Regions from separate parts of the Homo sapiens genome. Here region 1 is linked to region 2. Evidence: promoter capture Hi-C in human tissues and cell types (Jung and others, 2019). All regions are on one chromosome and are shown on one strand. The core of a region is centred on a gene start or on the middle of the fragment in contact, and the rest is flanking DNA. Distances in the headings are between cores, read along the strand shown.

Region 1 (6,832 bases), core at 1,648-4,147, 500 kb before region 2:
TAGGAGTGGCTTCCGTCTTAAGAAACCACTTTCTTTGCTCATCTGTAAGAAGCAACCCCTCATCCATTCAAGTTTTATCATGAGGTTGCAGCAATTCAGTCACATCTTCAGGCTACACTTCTGAATTCTAGTTCTTTTTCTTCTTCCACCACATCCGCAGTTACTTCCTCCACTGAAGTCTTTTTTTTTTTTTGGAGATGGAGTCTCGCTCTTGTAACCCAGCCTGGAGTGCAATGGTGTGATCTCGGCTCACTGCAACCTCCACCTTCTGGGTTCAAGCAATTATCCTGCCTCAGCTTACTGAATAGCTGGGATTACAAGCACCGGCCACCATGCCCGGCTTTTTTTTTTTTTTGAGACGGAGTCTCGCTCTGTCGCCCAGGCTGGAGTGCAGTGGTGCGATCTCGGCTCACTGCAAGCTCCGCCTCCCGGGTTCACGCCATTCTCCTGCCTCAGCCTCCTGAGTATCTGGGACTACAGGCGCCCGCCGCCACGGCTGGCTAATTTTTTGTATTTTTAATAGAGTTGGGGTTTCACTGTGTTAGCCAGGGTGGTCTCAATCGCCTGACCTCGTGATCCGCCTGCCTCAGCCTCCCAAAGTGCTGGGATTACAGGCGTGAGCCACCCCGCCCGGCCCATGTTCGGCTAATTTTTGTATTTCTACTTTTTACTTTTATTTTTATTTATTATTATTATTATTTTTTGAAATGGAGTCTCACTCTATCGCCCAGGCTGGAGTGCAAGTGATGTCATCTCGGCTCACTGCAAGCTCCGCCTCCCGGGTTCACGCCATTCTCCTGCCTCAGCCTCCTGAGTAGCTGGGATTACAGGTGCCTGCCACCATGCCTGGCTAATTTTAAAAATATTTTTAGTAGAGACAGGGTTTCACCAAGTTGTCCAGGCTGCTCTTGAACTCATGACCTCAGGTGATCTGCCCGCCTTGGCCTCCCAAAGTGTTGGATTACAGGCGTGAGCCACCATGCCCAGCCTGGCCTTTTTTTTTTTTTTTTTTTTTTGAGACAGAGTCTTGCTCTTTTGCTCAGGCTGGAGTGCAGTGGTGTGATCTCAGCTCACTGCAACCCCTGCCTCCTGGGTTCAAGTGATTTTCCTGCCTCAGCCTCCTAAGTAGCTGGATTACAGGCATGCGCCACGATGCCTGGCTATTTTTTGTATTTTCAGTAGAGATGAGTTCACCATGTTGGCCAGGCTGATCTTGAACTCCTGACCTCAAGTGATCTGCCCACCTCAGCCTCCCAAAATGTTGCGATTACAGGTGTGAGGCACTGTGATTGGCCCTCCACTGACGTCTTGAACCTGTCAATATCATCCATGAGGGTTGGAATCAACTTCTCCCAAACTCCTGTTGATGTTGACATTTTGACCTCCTCCCATGAGTCATGCATATTCTTTTTTATTTATTTATTTATTTATTTTTTGAGACAGAGTCTTGCTCTGTCACACAGGCTGGAGTACAGTGGCATGATCTCAGCTCACTGCAACCTCCACCTCCCGTGTTCAAGTGATTCTTCTGCCTCAGCCTCCCGAGTAGCTGGGACTACAGGCGCCCATCACCACACCCAGCTAATTTTTTGTATTTTTAGTAGAGATGGGGTTTTACCGTGTTAGCCAGGGTAGTCTCAATCTCCTGACCTAGTGATCTGCCAGTCTCGGCCTCCGAAAGTGCTGGGATTATAGGTGTGAACCACCGCACCTGGCCAAGTCATGAATATTCTTAATGTCATCTAAAATGATGAATGTTTTCCAAAATGTTTTAAATTTACTTTGCCCAGATCCATCAGAGGAATCATTATCTATGGCAGTTATAGCTTTATGAAATGTCTTTTAAAAATAAGACTTGAAAAGTGAAGTCACTCCTTGATCCATGGCTGCAGGATGGATGTTGTGTTAGCAGGCAGGAAAACAACATTAATCTCGTTGTACATCTCCATCAGGGCTCTTGTACATCTCCATCAGAGCACAACATTAATCTCGTTGTACATCTCAATCAGGTGCATTGTCAATGAGCAGTAGTAATTTGAAAGCCATCCTTTTCTCTGAGCAGTAGGTCTCAAAAGTGGGCTTAAAGTATTCAGTAAACCATGCTATAAACAGACATGCTGTCATCCAGGGTTTGTTGTTCCATCTATAGAGCACAGGCAGAGTAGATTTAGCATAATTCTTAAGGGCCCTAGGATTTCCAAAATGGTAAATAAGCATTGGCTTCAACTTAAAGTCACCAGCTGTATGAGCCCCTAACAAGAGAGTCAGCCTGTTCTTTGAAGCTTTAATGCCAGGCATTGACTTCTCTTTAGCTATGAAAGTCCTAGATGTTTGGCTGGGTGCGGTGGCTCACGCCTGTCATCTCAACACTTTGGGAGGCCGAGGTGGGCGGATCACCTGAGGTCAGGAGTTTGAGAGCAGCCTGGCCAATGTGGTGAAACCCCATCTCTACTAAAAATACAAAAATTAGCCGGGCATGGTGGCCTGCACCTGTAATCCCAGCTATTCGGGAGGCTGAGGCAGGAGAATTGCTTGAACCCGGGAGGCAGAGGTTGCAGTGAGCCAAGACTGTGCCAATGTACTCCAGCCTGGGTGACAGAGCGAGACTCTGTCTCAAAAAAAAAAAAAAAAAAAAAGAGGAAATCCTAGATGGCATATTCTTCCAAGAGAAGGCTGTTTCATCTCCATTAAAAATCTATTGTTTAGTGTAGCCGCCTTAATCAGTGATCTTAGCCAGGTCTTCTGGTTAACTTGCTGCAGCTTGTACATTAGCATTTGCTGCTCCACTTTGTACTTTTATGTGACAGGGACAGCTTCTTGCCTTAAATCTCATGAACTAACATTGATTGATTGACTGACTGAGACAGAGTCTCACTCTGTTGCACAGGCCAGAGTGCAACAGCGTGATCATGCTTCACTGTAGCCTCGACTTCCCAGGCTCAAGTGATCTTCCCACCTCTGCCTCCTGAGTAGTTGGGACTACAGGTGTGTGCCACCATGCCTGGCTTATTTCTTGTAGACACAGGGTCTCCCTATGTTGCCCAGGCTGGCCCCAACCCCTGGGCTCAAGCCATCCTCCTGCCTGAGTCTCCCAAAGTGCTAGGATTACAGGCATGAGCAACCATGCCCAGTCAATGAACTAACCTTTGTTAGCTTCCAACATTTCTTCTGTAGCTTCCTCACCTCTCAGCCTTCATAGAATTGAAGAGAGTTAAGGCCTTGCTCTGTATTAGGCTGTGGCTTAAGAGAAGGTTGTGGCCGGTTTGATTTCCTATCTAGACCACTCAAACTTTCTACATATCAGCAAGAAGGCTGTTTCACTTTCTTTTTTTTTTTTTTGAGACGGAGTCTTGCTCTGTCGCCCAGGCTGGAGTGCAGTGGTGCAATCTCGGCTCACTGCAAGCTCTGCCTCCCAGGTTCACGCCATTCTCCTGCCTCAGTCTCCTGAGTAGCTGGGACTATAGGCGCCCGCCACCACGCCCAGCTAATTTTTTGTATTTTTTAGTAGAGACGGGGTTTCACCATGTTAGCCAGGATGGTCTCGATCTCCTGACCTTGTGATCCACCTGCCTCGGCCTCCCAAAGCGCTGGGATTACAGGCGTGAGCCACCACGCCTGGCCGGCTGTTTCACTTTCTTATCATTTGTATGTTCACTGGAGTTGCACTTTTAATTTCCTTCAAGGACTTTTATTTGCATTCACAGCTTAGCTGTTTGGTATAAGAGGCCTATCTTTCAGCCTATCTCAATTTTTTTTATTTTTGGTTTTAGAGACAGGGTCTTGCTTCATCACCCAGACTGGAGTGCAGTGGCATGATCATAACTCATTGTAACTTTGAACTCCTGGGCTCAAGCAATCCTCCTGCCTCAACCTCTTGAGGAGTGCAACAGCACACGCAATAGGTGTGTGCACCATACCTGGCATTTTTTTTTTGTAGGGATGGGGTCTCGCTGTGTTGCTCGGGCTGGTTTCAAACTCCTGCACTCAAACAGTCCTCCTGCCTCAGCCTCCTAAAGTGCTGGGATTACAGGGATGAACCACCATGCCTGGCTCTATCTCAGCTTCTGACATGCCTTCCTTACTAAACTTAGTCATTTCTAGCTTTTGATTTAAAGTGAGAGGCGTGAGATTCTTCCTTTCACTTAACACTTAGAGGCTATTGTAGAGTTATTTTATTTTTTATTTTTTTTTGAGACAGAGTCTCACTGTGTTGCCCAGGCTGGAGTGCAATGGCATGATCTCAGCTCATTACAACCTCCGCCTCCTGGGTTCAAGCGATTCTTCTGCCTCACCCTCCTGAGTAGCCGGGATTATAGGCACATGCCACCATGCCCAGCTAATTTTTGTATTTTTAGTAGAGACAGGGTTTCACCATGTTGGCCAGGCTGGTCTCAAACTCCTGACCTCAGATGATCCACCTCCCTCAGCCTCCCAGAGTACTGGGATTGCAGGAAAGAACCAATGCGCCCAGCCTCTGTAGAGTTATTAATTGGCCTAATTTCATGATTGTTGTGTCTCAGGGAATAGGGTGGCCTGAGGAGAGGGAGAGGGCTGGGAGAAGTCAGAAGACACACATTTATCAATTAAGTTTGCCATCTTAAATGGATGTAGTTCGTGGTGCCCCAAAACAATATCATAGTAACATCAAAGATCACTGATCACAGAACACCATAACACATATAATAATAATAACAAAAAAAAGGGCTGAGTGCGGTGACTCATGCCTGTAATTCCAGCACTTTGGGAGGCCGAGGTGGGCGGATCACTAAAGGCCAGGAGTTTGAGACCAGTCTGGCCAACATAGTGAAACCCCATCTATACTAAAAATACAAAAATTAGCCAGGTGTAGTGTGCACACCTGTAGTCCCAGCTACTCAGGAGGCTGAGACACGAGAATCACTTGAACCTTGGAGGCAGAGGTGGCAGTGAGCCGAGATCACGCCACTGCACTCCAGCCTGGGTGACAGAATGAGAATGTCTCGAAAAAAAAAAAAAAAGAGTTTGAAAAATTGTGAAAACTACCAAAATGTGACACAGAGATACAAAGTGAGCATATGCTGTTGGAAAAATGGCACTGATATACTGGCTTTACACATGCAAACCTTCAATTTATAAAAACTGCAGTGTTTGTGAAGAGCAATATATCAAAGTAAACCTGTGATGATGATGATGATGATGATGATTATTTTGAGACAGAGTTTATTTATTTGAGACGGAGTTTCTCGCCCAGGCTGGAGTGCAGTGGCATGATCTCAGCTCACTGCAGCCTCTGCCTCCCGGGTTTGAGTGATTCTACTGTCTCAGCCTCCTGAGTAGCTGGGACTACAGGCGTGAGCCACTGCACCTGGCCTTATTATTAATTTTTTTAGTGGCAGAAAGTCCTTAGAGATGAGTTGGGGCAGGCCTAGGAGGGCCTAGAAGGCCAAGGCAGTAGAAGCTGCTGGTGGCTTGTGAGCAGGTCTGTGACAATAAGGCAGTGGTACACAGGTGGAGCGAGACAGGGCAAGGCAAACCAGGAATCATGAGGCCATTTCAGGGCTACTGCAGTGCCCCAGGGGCCAGGCAATGGTTCTGAGTGGGTAGGAGCTGCCACCAAGGAGTGGCCATTTGGGCTTCCATCATACAGGAACATCTGAGTCAAGCTACTCTGAGCAGGGCCAGTGCTGTAGTGACAGAGAGGAGGGTCTCCGGACAAGTAGGGGGATATGAAGAGGGTCTATAGGGGTTGGGGCATTTCTCGCCCATCAGACATACTTCTCAGACTCCCCTCATCTCCTCCATCTCTGCTCCCAGACTTGTCAGGAGGCTGAGGGTGCTGTACGTCCCTCGTTGACAAAGGGAGCCTGGAACGGCGGTGGTGATGGAACCTCAGAGCCAGGGGCTGAGGGGTGGGCCTACAGAAGTCCTCTTCATTCCCCTAATCTGAGGGCAGCAGCCCTGTCCCCTGATTCAGGGTGTGTCTGGCAAGCCCTTTGCAGCCTTCTTACCTGCAGCTGGATGCTCCAGAATCAGAAGATGAAACTCTCCTTTGTGCTGGGTGAGAGGGGCTGGTGCAGTAGTGCTGCTTTGCCCGTGGAGCCTCATCCACTGTGCAGCAAGAGGGGTGAAGAGGGTGATAGAGCTTCTGCAGCCAAGACCAAAGCCAGCTAGATGGGGTGGGGCCCAGCAAAGTCTTCCTAAGGGAACACCATCAGCCCTATCTGCCCTCTGCTGTCTCGGGTAAGGTGGACCCTGGAGGCAGCTGTCTTTCCTTGCAACAGGAGAAGTAAAATGTGGAGCTTTGGAGTCTTCCTAAAGGCTGCTGGGGTTGGGGCTGGGCAAGGTGGCCCATGCCTATAATTCCAGTGCTTTGGGAGGCCAAGGTGGCAGAATCGCTTGAGCTTAGGAGTTTGAGGTTACTTGTGATTGGCCACCATTGCATTCCAGCCTGGTGAGCCACTCTGATGTGTCCAGTTGGCAAGTGAATTCATCAGGCCTATGGGAGGTGTGGCATCTGGGCCTGGCAGGTGGGTGAGCTGCAGTGACCCAAGGCCCTAGGCATCCTGCCCTGATGGTGACCTCAGGGCTGCAGGATCAGCTGCTGGCTTCACTTCCCAGTCCACCCCACCATGTTGCTTTATGAGCTGGAACCTTGGAAGCTGAGGACTCCTGGCATTTCCTGGGCATGTGGGCCTCAGGGGAGGGATGCTCCTGGCCTTACCTTGGGAAACCTCCCCATACTCTTCAGGTCCTTCCTCCCAGAGCCACTACTACCAGTTTTTCTTTCTTTCTTTCTTTCTTTTTTTTTTAATTTGACAGGGTCTCACTCTGTTGCCCTGGCTGGAGTGCAGTG
Region 2 (6,367 bases), core at 365-2,864:
ACACCCGTGCCTGCCTGCACCCTACCCCTGGCACCTCGTCACAGAGTTCATGTCCAGGCAGATCACATTAGAGGCATCCAAGAGGTGCAATAGTGGAATCAGGAGTGGGCAGGGGAGACCACAGGATCCCCAAAGACCACTTCCTCCTTTCACAGCTGGGGGCAGCAGAAGATACGGATAAGAGCTAAAGTTATGGCCGGGCACGGTGGCTTATGCCTATAATCCTAGCGCTTTGGGAGGCCGAAGCGAGTGATCACCTGAGGTCAGGAGTTCGAGACCAGCCTGCCCAACATGGCGAAACCCCGTCTCTACTAAAAATACAAAAATTAGCTGGGCATGGTGGTGGGCACCTGTAATCCCAGCTACTTGAGAGGCTGAGGCAGGAGAATCGCTTGAACCCGGGGGGCAGAGGTTGCAGTGAGCTGAGATTGCACCACTTCACTCCAGCCTGGGCAAAAGAGCGAGACTCCATCTCAAAAAAAAAAAAAAAAAAAAAAATCTGAAGTTATTAGTTTAAATCCTGGCTCGACCGCTTAACAGCTGTGTGACCCTGGGCAAGTTGCATCATACCTCTAGACCTCACTTTCCTCATCTATAAAATGGGAATAGCAATGTCATGGCCTCTGGCTGTTTTAAGGATTAAATAAGTAGGAAGTTCTTAGCCCAGTGTTTGGCACATAATAACAAACCATAATTAATATTCTCGTAGATGAGGAGATTGAGTCCCAGAAAGGAGAAAGGGGGAGGGCTCGCCCAAGGTCAGCTCCTGTTTCAGAGCTTGGAACAAGGTTCTCTGATCCCATTGGGTGCTCTCACACCTGTTCTGTGCCTGATTAGCACCAGGCAGGGCTGAGGGGCACTGGGATGACCTTGACAGTCCCTGTCCTCAGCCATCATACACTCCAGAGAAGACTGCACTCTGGAGCAGAGTTCTTAGCTCAAAGCATTCCCACTTTCCAGTGCAGAGGCAGGACATGTGGTCAGACCAGTGGCCTAACCTTGCCAGACTGGGGCTAGGCAAGGAGAGTGTTGCAGGTGGAATCGTGTCCCCCAAAAAGGCATGTTGAAGTCCTGGCCCCCAGTACTTCAGAATGTGACCTCATTTGGAAACAGGGTGGTTGCAGATGTAATTCGTTCAATTAAGATGAGGTCATACTGAAATGCATGGGACCCTAGCCCCATATGACTGGTGTCCTTATAAGAAGAAGAGACACAGAGGAGGGTGCCATGTGAAGACAGCAACACAGGAAAAATGCCATGTCAGTGAGAAAGGGGCTTTTGGGAATGAGAAGGCTTTCTGGATGTAAAGGTCAGGTTGGTGTGTCAGGGACAACCCCTTCCTGGAAACCTTGGGCTGAAAAAAAGGGACTGGGACCTACCCTGATGGGATGACCGTGATACAGTGAGGACAGCCAGGCTGGTGGAGGCTGTGCAAGGCAGGGGTGCTGGGTCATCTGTCCCTAAAGCGGGTAGCCCTCAGCTGGGTAAGGGGCTGGGTTACTGAGAAGGAGAAAAGGGAAGGCAGCTGTTAAACCGGCTGCTGACCTAGGAATCCCACTGCAATGAGAGAGTTCTGGGGGGAGGGTCTCTTCTCCCCCTCCCACCAGAACCTTCAACTGTCAAGCACCGAGCTAGCCACCAGCATGCTGTACTCCCCAGGTAGGCACTCATGGGGCCTTGCCCCACTCCTGTACCTCCTGCAGGCTAGAGCCTCCCCCCAGGGGAGGAGCTGTGTCCCGCATCAGACTGGGTGCCCCTTGAGGGTACAGAGAGTGACTCTTCCATCAGACTGGATGCCCCTTGAGGGTACAGAGAGTGACTCTTCCATCAGACTGGATGCTCCCTAAGGACAGGACCTGGGCCTCGTTCTCAGACTGTTTGGGGAAGGATAGGCCACTGGTGGTCAGACTGGGTGGTAGGCCGGGCAGGAACTCTTTCTCCTCTCCACTGACAGTTGGAGTTGGGGAGAGGAGAGGGGCCGGCCATCCCACTGTCATGGCTGCTGGGGAAAAGGGTTTGTGTGAAAAAGCCCACGTAGAGAAGAAAACTTTAGGGAACAGAGAGAACCTCTCCTAAGCCTAGAAAAGCAGGTCCCTCAGCCCAGGAAGATGAGATCCTCAGGGTGGCAGGGGCAGGACTACCTGAGGCAAGCCTGGGACCAGACTCCAGGAGATGGGGGAGAGTGGGCTGGGGGGAAGGGGAGGGCTGGGCAGAACTGAGTTGTTCCTGTGGGGCTAGGGTGCACAGAGGGCAGCCAGCCTTGGCCAGCAGAAGGTCAGCCCTGTACCTCACCCTCAGCCTGGGGCACCGTGAGACCATGGGCCCCTAGACCCAGCCTCCCAGCTTCTCAGGCCCTCCCTGTTTACCTGACCCTAGGAAGTTTAGGCCTAGCTGGTGACCCCAAACCCAGTCCTTGTTCTTCAGAAGTGCCCTGAGCCCAGGAGTTCAAGACCAGCCTGGTCAGCATAGCAAGACCTCATCTCAAAATATAATTTATTTATTTATTATTATTACTTATTAGTATTTATTTTTTTTTAAAGTTCCCTGACACAACATCTTAGTTTTTTCCCAGTGCCGGAAATCAAACTGTCCTTAAATCTATAGTCCCCTAATAACAATGTATTGCATTTAGAAAATCACTGAGAGAGGCCAGGCACAGTGGTTCACGCCTGTAATCCTAGCACTCTGGGAGGCCAAGGCAGGTGGATCATCTGAGGTCAGGAGTTCGAGACCAGCCTGGCCAACATAGTGAAACCGTGTCTCTACTAAAATACAAAAATTAGCCATGCGTGGTGGCGGGCGCCTGTAATCCCAGCTACTCGGGAGGCTGAGGCAGGAGAATCTCTTGAACCCAGCAAGTGGAGGTTGCAGTGAGCCGAGATCGTGCCACCGCACCCCAAGCCTGGGCGACACAGCGAGACTCCATCTCAAAAAAAAAAGAAAATCACTGACAGTAGATTTTAAGTGTTCTCACCACAAACAAATAACAAGTATGTGCAGTAATGCAGATATTAATTAGCTCAACTGAGCCATTCCACAGTGAATACATATTTCAAAACACCATGTCGTATACAACAGATATATACTTTTTTTGTCAATAAAATAAAACTGATTTAGTTAAAAACGATCTGGCCGGGCGCAGTGGCTCACGCCTGTAATCCCAGCACTTTGGGAGGCCGTGGCGGGCAGATCACGAAGTCAGGAGATCGGGACCATCTTGGCTAACGCGGTGAAACCCTGTCTCTACTAAAAATACAAAAAATAAGCCAGGCGTGGTGGCGGGCGCCTGTAGTCCCAGCTACTCGGGAGGCTGAGGCAGGAGAATAGCGTGAACCCAGAAGGTGGAGCTTGCAGTGAGCCAAGATCGCTCCACTGCACTCCAGCCTGGGCGACAGAGTGAGACTCCGCCTCAAAAAAAACCTCAAAAAACAACAACAACAACAACAACAAAATGATCTGTAGGTTCTCAGTCTGATGGAGGAGACAGGATGTGCAGCTGCAGCAGAAAGCTTCCTGTCCATTCATGCCTTTTAACATGCAGCAGCCCCTGCTTTCCACGCAGTTTCAGTTACCCGCTGTCAACTGCAGTCTGAAAACATCAGGATATTTTGAGACAGAGAGACCACATTCACATTACTGTTATTGTATTGTTGTATTTGTTATATTTTATTACTTATTATGGTTAACTGCTTACTGTGCCTAATTTATAAACTAAACTTTATCATAGGTATGTACATAAAGGAAAGACATAGTATTGATATATACAGGGTTTGGTACCACCCGCAGTTTCAGGTGTCCACTGGGGGTGTTGGAACGTACCCCTAGGGTTAAGGGGAGCTACTGTGTTGCTCTGGCCATCTGTCTGTGCTTCCCACAGGCAGCCTTGGTCTGTCTGTCTCAGCCTTCTCACGCTCCTAGCCCATGTGACAGCTTGGATCTTTTGCCCTCTCTAAGGGGATATTTTCTTTTGGGTTTTTTTTTTTTTTGGTGTTTTTGTTTGTTTGTTTGTTTTGAGGTGGAGTCTCACTCTATTGCCCAGGCTGGAGTGCAGTGGCCCAACCTTGGCTCACTGCAACCTCCACCTCCCGGGTTCAAGCGATTCTCCTGCCTCAGCCTCCTGAATAGCTGGGACTACAGGCATGTGCTACCACACCCAACTCATTTTTGTGTTCTTAGTAGAGACGGGGTTTCACCATGTTGGCCAGGCGGGTCTTGAACTCCTGACTTCAGGTGATCCGCCCACCTCAGCCTCTCAAAGTGCTGGGATTACAGGCGTGAGCCACAGTGCCCAACTTAAAGACATTTTCCATGACAACTGTGGTGGTGTGGATAGGTGTGTCAGTCCTTCCTGCAAGTCAGAGCTGAGTAATGACCTCACACCCTGGGGACTGGGTATGCAGCTTCGAAGCAGGGTTTGGGGGCCAGACAGTGAGAAATGACTTGTTGGGCTGGATGGTGACTAGGGGACAGAGGGCTCTGGGGAAATGAGACAAGGGAGTTAAGATGGAACCTGAATTGCCTTGGCCTGCCCTCTGATGTTCTTTCAGTCTTCTCAAACAACAGCATCTTCCCTGGTCCTTCCAGGCCCCCAGGAGAGCTCAACACCCTCAGTCCTCGGAGCAGCCAGGGTAGAGGCTGCCTGGAGTGACTGCACGGTGCAAGGGCATGGAGTGGTTTGCCTTATCGTGTGAATGACCTTAGATGATTCGCTCAACCCAGGTTTGTCAACCCCAGCTCTCTTGACATTTTGAACTGGAAAATTCTTTATTGTGGAGACTTTCCTCTACACTGAGGGGCGCCCAGCAGCATCCCTGGCCTCTACTTACTAGATGCCAGTAGCTCCCCTGAGACCTGCCCCAGTTATGACAACCAACACTGCCTCTAGACGTTGCCACCTGTTCCCTGGGGGCCGTAATCACCCCGGGTTGAGAACTTCTGACTCAATCTCTCTGTGGAGGCCCTGGCTTCCACCCAGCTCAGATGGGAATAGTCATCCTGATCCGCCAGCTTCACAGATAGGGATCAGGGGCTGAAACAGAAGGTGTTCAGCTCTCCCCTCTCAGGACTGCTTTCCACCCTTCCCTCGGAACCCTCTTCATCTGAAAGGGGCTCCACTGTTTAACCCCGCCCCCGCAGCCCCCCTCACAGTCTCTTTGAATAAAGACACACACACACACACACACACACACACACACACACACACACCTGTAATCATAGCCCGAGGGGGTGAGGGAGCTTCCATTACCATTTCTAAGATAATCCCAGAGGGCTTGGGTTAGAAGAGACAGGGTTTGAGGAAAATGGAGGGAGAAAAGAGCGAGGAGAACTCCCAGACTCTGGCTCTACCCACCCTCTTCCCTGCTTCCCAGCCCTGATGCTTCCAGAACCAGGACGTCAAAGTGCACCCCACCCTCAGGGGAATGGGATGTGCTTAGAATAGGGAAAGGGGGATAGTCATTCCCCCACAGAACCTCCCTGATGATCCCATCAACCTGGTGGCCCCTTTTCATGGCACTTTCTCCTGTCTTTGCGGCCCATGGAGCTGAACCTGGGGGAGGAATCGCATGGGAGGGTCTTCTCCACGCTCCATGTTGGGGGTGCATTCACTTTGACCCCTCAGTACCAGCCCAGAATAAATTCTCCATAAAACATGCCTAACACGAGTTAGGGTTTGCTCTCAGGAGCTCAAACCAGTGGCAAAGACAGACAAGCACACACATGACTCCAATATTGGAGTAATATCACTAGTATCATTAAATCCTATGATGGAGGGACACATATGTGACACAGAGCATGGGCCATGTGATCCTAGAAGGAGCTCAACAAATACCAGTTGACCAACTAGGTCAGTGGGGAGAAGGTGAGTAACGTTTTCTGAGCACCTGCTAAACTCCAGTCTTTTTCACACGTTGCATTCTTCAATCCTGAAACACCCTCGCAGGTAGAATGCAGCAGCCTCTATACACAGGTGAGGAAACCAAGGCTCAGGGAGGTCAAACAACTTGCCCAAGGTCACACAGCTAATTCTCTGGCTCCAGTGCAGCCCAGGGCATTAGCTCTGCTAAAAAGGGACAAGCCACCCCTTTTCCAACACCTTTATCCATCCTCAACACCCCCTGTCAGCTGCTCCACACAGGGGAAGTGACTTCACAAAGACCACACACAAGTTGCAGTACAATGGACGAAGGGGCCGCACCAAGGCCAGTTGACTCACTCATCCCTCTCCAGCACAGCCATGGCTCCTCACCATGGCGACCTCCCAGCAAGGCAGCGAGCCTGATGGCTGAGAGCATAGAGCAGCCTGCCCTGACTCTAATGCCCACCGAGTCTGAGGAATTTCAGCCTCTCTCTGCCTCAGTTTCTCTGT

What was found. Contacts are between HindIII fragments. The study calls those that stand out against the background at their distance.
Region 1: a contact is called between a fragment that was not itself captured here and the fragment with the promoter of CAPN11 in region 2, in 2 of the 25 tissues and cell types used here (bladder and spleen).

The regions. Positions count from the first base shown.
Region 1 is chr6:43,659,046-43,665,877 of GRCh38, forward strand. The region is part of intron 4 of RSPH9 (radial spoke head component 9); the gene reads left to right. Among named protein-coding and RNA genes, the nearest start is that of RSPH9, 17 kb to the left of the region's middle. RefSeq lists an enhancer at 2,981-3,170. The HindIII fragment of the contact is 8,446 bases long and covers 1-6,832 here.
Region 2 is chr6:44,157,206-44,163,572 of GRCh38, forward strand. It overlaps CAPN11 (calpain 11), which reads left to right and starts at 1,615. Exons shown (of 23, transcript NM_007058.4): 1 at 1,615-1,659. The coding sequence starts at 1,644. It overlaps LOC107986599 (a long non-coding RNA gene), which reads right to left and starts at 1,398. Exons shown (of 3, transcript XR_002956350.2): 1 at 1,380-1,398. RefSeq lists an enhancer at 2,792-2,961 and a silencer at 4,345-4,434. The HindIII fragment of the contact is 19,752 bases long and covers 1-6,367 here.